2 separate regions of the Homo sapiens genome follow, and region 2 is linked to region 1. The links are contacts of gene promoters, found by promoter capture Hi-C in human tissues and cell types (Jung and others, 2019). All regions are on one chromosome and are shown on one strand. The core of a region is centred on a gene start or on the middle of the fragment in contact, and the rest is flanking DNA. Distances in the headings are between cores, read along the strand shown.

Region 1 (2,724 bases), core at 189-2,688:
CCCAGATACCCACCACCTGCCTCAGCAATTATCAACGTTGTGGCATTCCTATTTATCTACCTTTTTTTGGCTGATGTATTTTAAAGAAAATCTCAGGCATTCTAACATTTCACCTTTAAATACTTTAGTATATACCTCTAACAGATAAAGGCTAATTTTTAACATAAGCACACAATCATTATCAAGCCCAACAAAATTAACAATAATTTTTTAAAATCTAATACCCAGTTCGAGTTCACTTTCCCAAAGTACCTTGGAAATGTCTTTTACAGTTGTTTGCTTGAATCAGGATCCAAACAAGATCCACACACACATGGCTGACATGTCTCTTAAAGCCCTTTTTATTTAAAACACCCCCGTCCTACACACACGTTTCCCTCCATATATTTGTTGAAGAAACTGGGTCAGGTGTCCCGAGTATAATCATTTGGCGTGACTAGAATCAAGTTTACTTTTAATACGTCTCTCTTGCCCATAATTCCTGAATGTTGTTCATTAGATTTACAGGCTGACTAGATTCAAGTTCAATTTTTTTGGCAAGAATACTTCCTAGGTGGTGCTGGTACTTCCTATTCACCATATTAGCAAATACATATGATGCAGACTGTCCCACTTTTAGTGATGTTGAGGTCGAGCATTTGCTTCAGGTTGTGTCAGCCTGACCCAACCATTATACAATTCACCTGGAGAACTTAAAAAAAAAAAACAACAAAAAAGATTGCCTACGTCCCAAACCAAACCTCCTGAATCAGAATATCTTCCCCACCTCCTCCATGTGTTTAAAAGGCTCCCCGGGCCAGGTGCGATGGGAGCACTGGAGTAATCCCAGCACTTTGGGAGGCCGAGGGGGGGCAGATCACCTGAGGTCAGGAGTTCGAGACCAGCCTGGCCAACATGGCAAAACCCCGTCTCTACTAAAAATACAAAAATTAGCCGGGTGTGGTGGCACATGCCTGTAATCCCAGCTACTCGGGAGGCTGAGGCAGGAGAATGGCTTGAACCCGGGAGGCGGAGGTTCAAGTGAGCCGAGATTGCACCACTACACTCCAACCTGGGTGACAGAGTGAGATCCTGTCTCAAAAATAAAAAAGAAAGAAAATACTTTTTAAAAAAATAGGAAATTCACCCCTTTGGAAAGTGGCAGAGCCAGGTGTGACCCCAGGACTCCGCATTTTTAAGTCACCACAGGTGGTTCTGCTGCAGGTGGTCCGAGTATTTCCCTTGGTAAAATACGGTGCTTTTGGCGCTGTTCCATTCCGGGGGCTGTCACCTGGTTCTTCAACACAAAGCTTGTCCTCAAGGAACCCACAGTCCTGGGGCAGCGAGCATGTGCACTAGTGGCAATCACGTGGGGAGGAAGCGGTCAGTGCCATAAAGGCAGTTCAGGGAAACTGCTGGGAGGGCACAGCAGAAGGAGCACTCACTGCCAGCTGGGAAGTCATGGAAGGCTTCCTGGAAGACAGGCATGGAGCTGAACTTTGAAGGAATCAGGTTATTCCAGGGGAAGGGGCAGCACTGGCAGAAGAACAGAGGCAAAGGGAAATGCTATCACCTTTCGTGGGGCTGGGGGAGTTAATGAGATGGGAACGACCAAATATGGAGATCCTAAAAGAAAGAAATGAGGCAGAGACAAGGTCCACTTGAGTAGCCGAGTAGACTGCTGGGGACTTGCTCGGAGGCCCAGGGACTTACAGGAACACACCCTATCAGGGGTGCTGGTGCTCACACACAGCTCAACAGGACCCTGCTAATGAAGGGTAATACTTCTGTACCAGGAGCTGGTATCAGCGCATTACACACCCTGCCCCATGAATCTTCACCCACATCCCTATGACGAAGGTGCCATTGTTCCTTCTATCTTCCAGAGGAAGAATTTAAAATGTCACACTGCTAGGACATGGCAGAGCTGGGATTCAAAACCAGGCAGTCTGGCTCCCAGAGACTGCATTCCTGACCACTCTGCTTCCCTGCCGCTCACCCTCTTGAAGAGTGAAGACCCTAGCAGCCTCCTGCCCATGGAGCATGGGGTCCTCATAGCAGGCCTCTCCTCCTCATACCTCTGCCTTCACCTCACAAGCTCAGGGAGTCCTCCTGCCCCTGCCCTGCTCCCTCTGTCTCCCCCTCAGGGCTCTCTTGGGTTTCTGTGCAGCAGGATACTGGCTCCCTCGCTCTTCCCTTCCTTTTGGTTCCTGGACCCAAACCACAGGCCTCTTTCCTTTAAGGGGTCACTCCTGTTCTCTGCAGACCCAGAACAGGGGTTAAAAGAGCAAGAGACAAGGCTGCGGACAAAGGTTTTGAGTCTCCCACAGTGCTCAGAGCCGTGTTCCCTGGTTCCCAGCTGAGCTCCCTGTGGACAGCCCCTGGGGAAGAGCCTGCTCAGGAGACAGAGGCCCTGAACAGCTTGTCCCAGGTCATAGAATAGCCCAGGAGCACAGCCAGGACTGGACCCCAGGAAGCAGAGCTGCCTTCCGCTGGCTCTACCAGTTTGTTTGGGATGGAGCTCAGCGATGAGCTCACCCTTCCCTGCTGCCAGAGGGGCCAGGACCTGAGTAAGGAGCTGGGGGCGGCCTGGCCCTCTCATGCCAGCAGAAGGCCAGCCCCAGGCTTTTGGCCAACCTTGCACTGATCTTGCCCATCCCCCTTCCTTTCCGTTGCTCAAAGGTGGCTTCACAGAAGACACTGGCGGTGTCAGTAGTGTGGGAGGCATGTACTGCCCGTGGCCTG
Region 2 (2,831 bases), core at 54-2,553, 700 kb before region 1:
TCAGTCTCTTTAACCCCCTCTCAAATTGCCCTCTCAGTCTTCCATGTTCTTGTGTCTCATGCATCTTGTTTCTGTGGCCCACAAATTAATCATTATTATTCATATTGCATATTAAATGCTTGTTTAGATTCACATGTTTACCAATTTGCTCACCATTTTTCCATCTAATTTCTTCCTTTTGGGTTCCATGTCCTTGTTACTAAACTACATTCTTTAAAAATTATTTCGGCGGCCAGGCGTGGTGGCTCACACCTGTAATCCCAGCACTTTGGGAGGCCGAGGCGAGTGGATCACGAGGTCAGGAGATCGAGACCATCCTGGCCAACATGGTGAAACTCCATCTCTACTAAAAATACAATAATTAGCTGGGGGTGGTGGCAGGCGCCTGTAATCCCAGCTACTGAGGAGGCTGACTGAGGCAGGAGAATCGCTTGAACCCGGGAGGCAGAGGTTGCAGTGAGCTGAGATCGCACCACTGCACCCCAGCCTGGCGACAGAACGAGACTTCGTCCCCCTCCCCCCTCCCCCAAAAAAATGTTGATCTTCAGTCTGCGCATTCTGCTCTGGATTTTAAGCATCATTTCTGGCAGCTCTTTTTCAGGAACTGTCTCTGCAGGTCTTTCAGTGTTCGCCTCTGGAGCTCTGCTCGGGCCCGCGAGTTCTCCTGGCGTTGCCATCTGTGCCCTTTTCCTTATTCCCCATCACCTGTCTCTCTGGTGAGCTGCTTCCGATCAGCCTCCAGGTCCACGATTTCTCTTCTGTTGTCCTTTTCTGCCTTCTCACCTCATCCTCTGAGACCTGAATTTCGATGGCTCTACTTTTCAATTATATTATTCTTTTTCAAACCTGGGCGTTCATTTCTAGCATCCTGTTCTATCCTGTGTCTGACTGTGCCTCCCGCACCTTCTCCCTTCTCTCGCCCTAAGCCCCGTGAAGGCGCCGGGCCTTTGGCTCCGGCTGTTTCCCACGGCGCCCAGAACCGCGTCAGTCCTGACACAGACTCGGTGAGGGCGGGAAGTGGTGCCGTGGGGCTGCAGCCTGGCCCGCCCGCTCCATCGGCCTAGGGCGGCCCCACCGCCCTCCGGGCCTTACCTTGAGTTCGGGCTGCGGGAGAAGCTCCCGCGCTGCCCATGACGTCACGGGACTGTGACGCGCCCAGAAGCCCCGCCCCTCGCGTCCCGGTCCGCGGACCCAGGCTCTCTGCGCCGTGACGTCACGGGTCCGGGCGGGCGGGTTGTGCGTCGGCCCAATGGGAGCGGCGCACTGGCCTCCCCTTTAAGGAATGTTGTGACCTGACGTCACCGGGCGAGTTACCTCCCGCAGCCGCAGCCGCCGTGCTCAGCGCGAGCCCCGGAGCCCTTGAGCGCGAGGCGCGGAGCCCCCGGAGCCCCCAAACCGCAGACACATCCCCGCGCCCCAGAGCCCCGGCCTGCGCGCCCAGCCGGGCCCGCGCGATGCCCTCAGACCGGCCTTTCAAGCAGCGGCGGAGCTTCGGTGAGGCCCGGCAGGCGAGCTGCGAGCTCTGGGGCAGGGGTGCCGGCCGACCCCGACTGCCGCAGGTGACGTCAGCCCCGTGACGTCAGGCTCTGGCTGGACCCTCGGGCTGGGACCAGCTCCGGCCTGGGCGGGGGCTGCCCGCTTCCCCACCGCGATAGGTGCCAGGGGCTGTGGGGCCTGATGGCCCCGGGGGTGGGGGCTGGAGCTGGGGCGTGGCCGGGGGCCGCCCCTCCGGGACAGGCGGGGCGGACCTGGGCCGGCCCGACCCGGCCTCACGGTCTGGCCGCTGTCCGCAGCCGACCGCTGTAAGGAGGTACAGCAGATCCGCGACCAGCACCCCAGCAAAATCCCGGTGAGTCCCGCACCCCCAGCCCTGCCCCGCCCCCGCCTCGCGCGTTCCCGACACGACCCCCTGCCCGCCCGCCCTGCTCCCAGGTGATCATCGAGCGCTACAAGGGTGAGAAGCAGCTGCCCGTCCTGGACAAGACCAAGTTTTTGGTCCCGGACCATGTCAACATGAGCGAGTTGGTCAAGATCATCCGGTGCGTGGGCAGCCGCCGCCAGGAGGTGGCTAGGGTCGGGAGGGGAGCCGGGTTCCCGCCGAGAAGGGGTGGGAGTGGGGTCAGGGGTGATGGGACCGGGCGGTGGGCCCCTGTTCTGGGGTGGCTGGAAAGGTCAAGGTCGGGGCTGCAGTCGGTGTTGGGTCAGAGGTGACAGCTGGGGTGAGAATGGGTGTGAAAGGCTGGGAATCATTCTGGGGGTCAGGGCTATGTCCGTCCCGCAGCCAAGCCCCTCACAGCTGCATACTCTCCCGCCGGCTGCAGGCGCCGCCTGCAGCTGAACCCCACGCAGGCCTTCTTCCTGCTGGTGAACCAGCACAGCATGGTGAGTGTGTCCACGCCCATCGCGGACATCTACGAGCAGGAGAAAGACGAGGACGGCTTCCTCTATATGGTCTACGCCTCCCAGGAAACCTTCGGCTTCTGAGCCAGCAGTAGGGGGGCTCGGCCTGGGAGTCGGGCGGCCCCGGTCAGGCCCTGCCCAGAGAGCTCCTGGTTCCTGAACTGAGCTGCCTCTACCGTGGTGGGCTGGGCAGGCATGTGCCCCCCTAGTCAGAGGGCACCAACCCACCTACTCTGCCCCTGGGTGGATCCTGGGCCGGTCGTGTTAGGGTTGTCCCTCTGGGTGCTGGCTGGTGGGATGGGGGAGGGTGGGGAGCAGCTCCCAGCACCCCTGCTGTGTGGTTCATCTTTTTTTTAGGCCCCTGCCTGTCTGCCCATCTGCCCCTCACCCACCCGAGGCTCTGCCCACCGCCTGGACCTGCCCACCCCTGA

Evidence for each region. The method cuts DNA at HindIII sites, captures the fragments that hold promoters and counts their contacts. A contact is called where the count stands out against the background at its distance.
Region 2: the fragment with the promoter of MAP1LC3A here is called in contact with a fragment that was not itself captured in region 1 in 1 of the 25 tissues and cell types used here (dorsolateral prefrontal cortex).

What each region holds. Positions count from the first base shown.
Region 1 is chr20:35,258,103-35,260,826 of GRCh38, forward strand. All of the region lies in intron 2 of MMP24-AS1-EDEM2 (MMP24-AS1-EDEM2 readthrough), which reads right to left. The region is part of intron 4 of MMP24 (matrix metallopeptidase 24); the gene reads left to right. Among named protein-coding and RNA genes, the nearest start is that of MMP24-AS1-EDEM2, 19 kb to the right of the region's middle. The HindIII fragment of the contact is 5,720 bases long and covers 1-2,724 here.
Region 2 is chr20:34,557,415-34,560,245 of GRCh38, forward strand. MAP1LC3A (microtubule associated protein 1 light chain 3 alpha) reads left to right here and starts at 1,304. Exons shown (of 4, transcript NM_032514.4): 1 at 1,304-1,494; 2 at 1,794-1,849; 3 at 1,933-2,039; 4 at 2,322-2,831. The coding sequence starts at 1,455. The coding sequence ends at 2,484. RefSeq lists silencers at 1,006-1,095, 1,436-1,485. The HindIII fragment of the contact is 19,125 bases long and covers 1-2,831 here.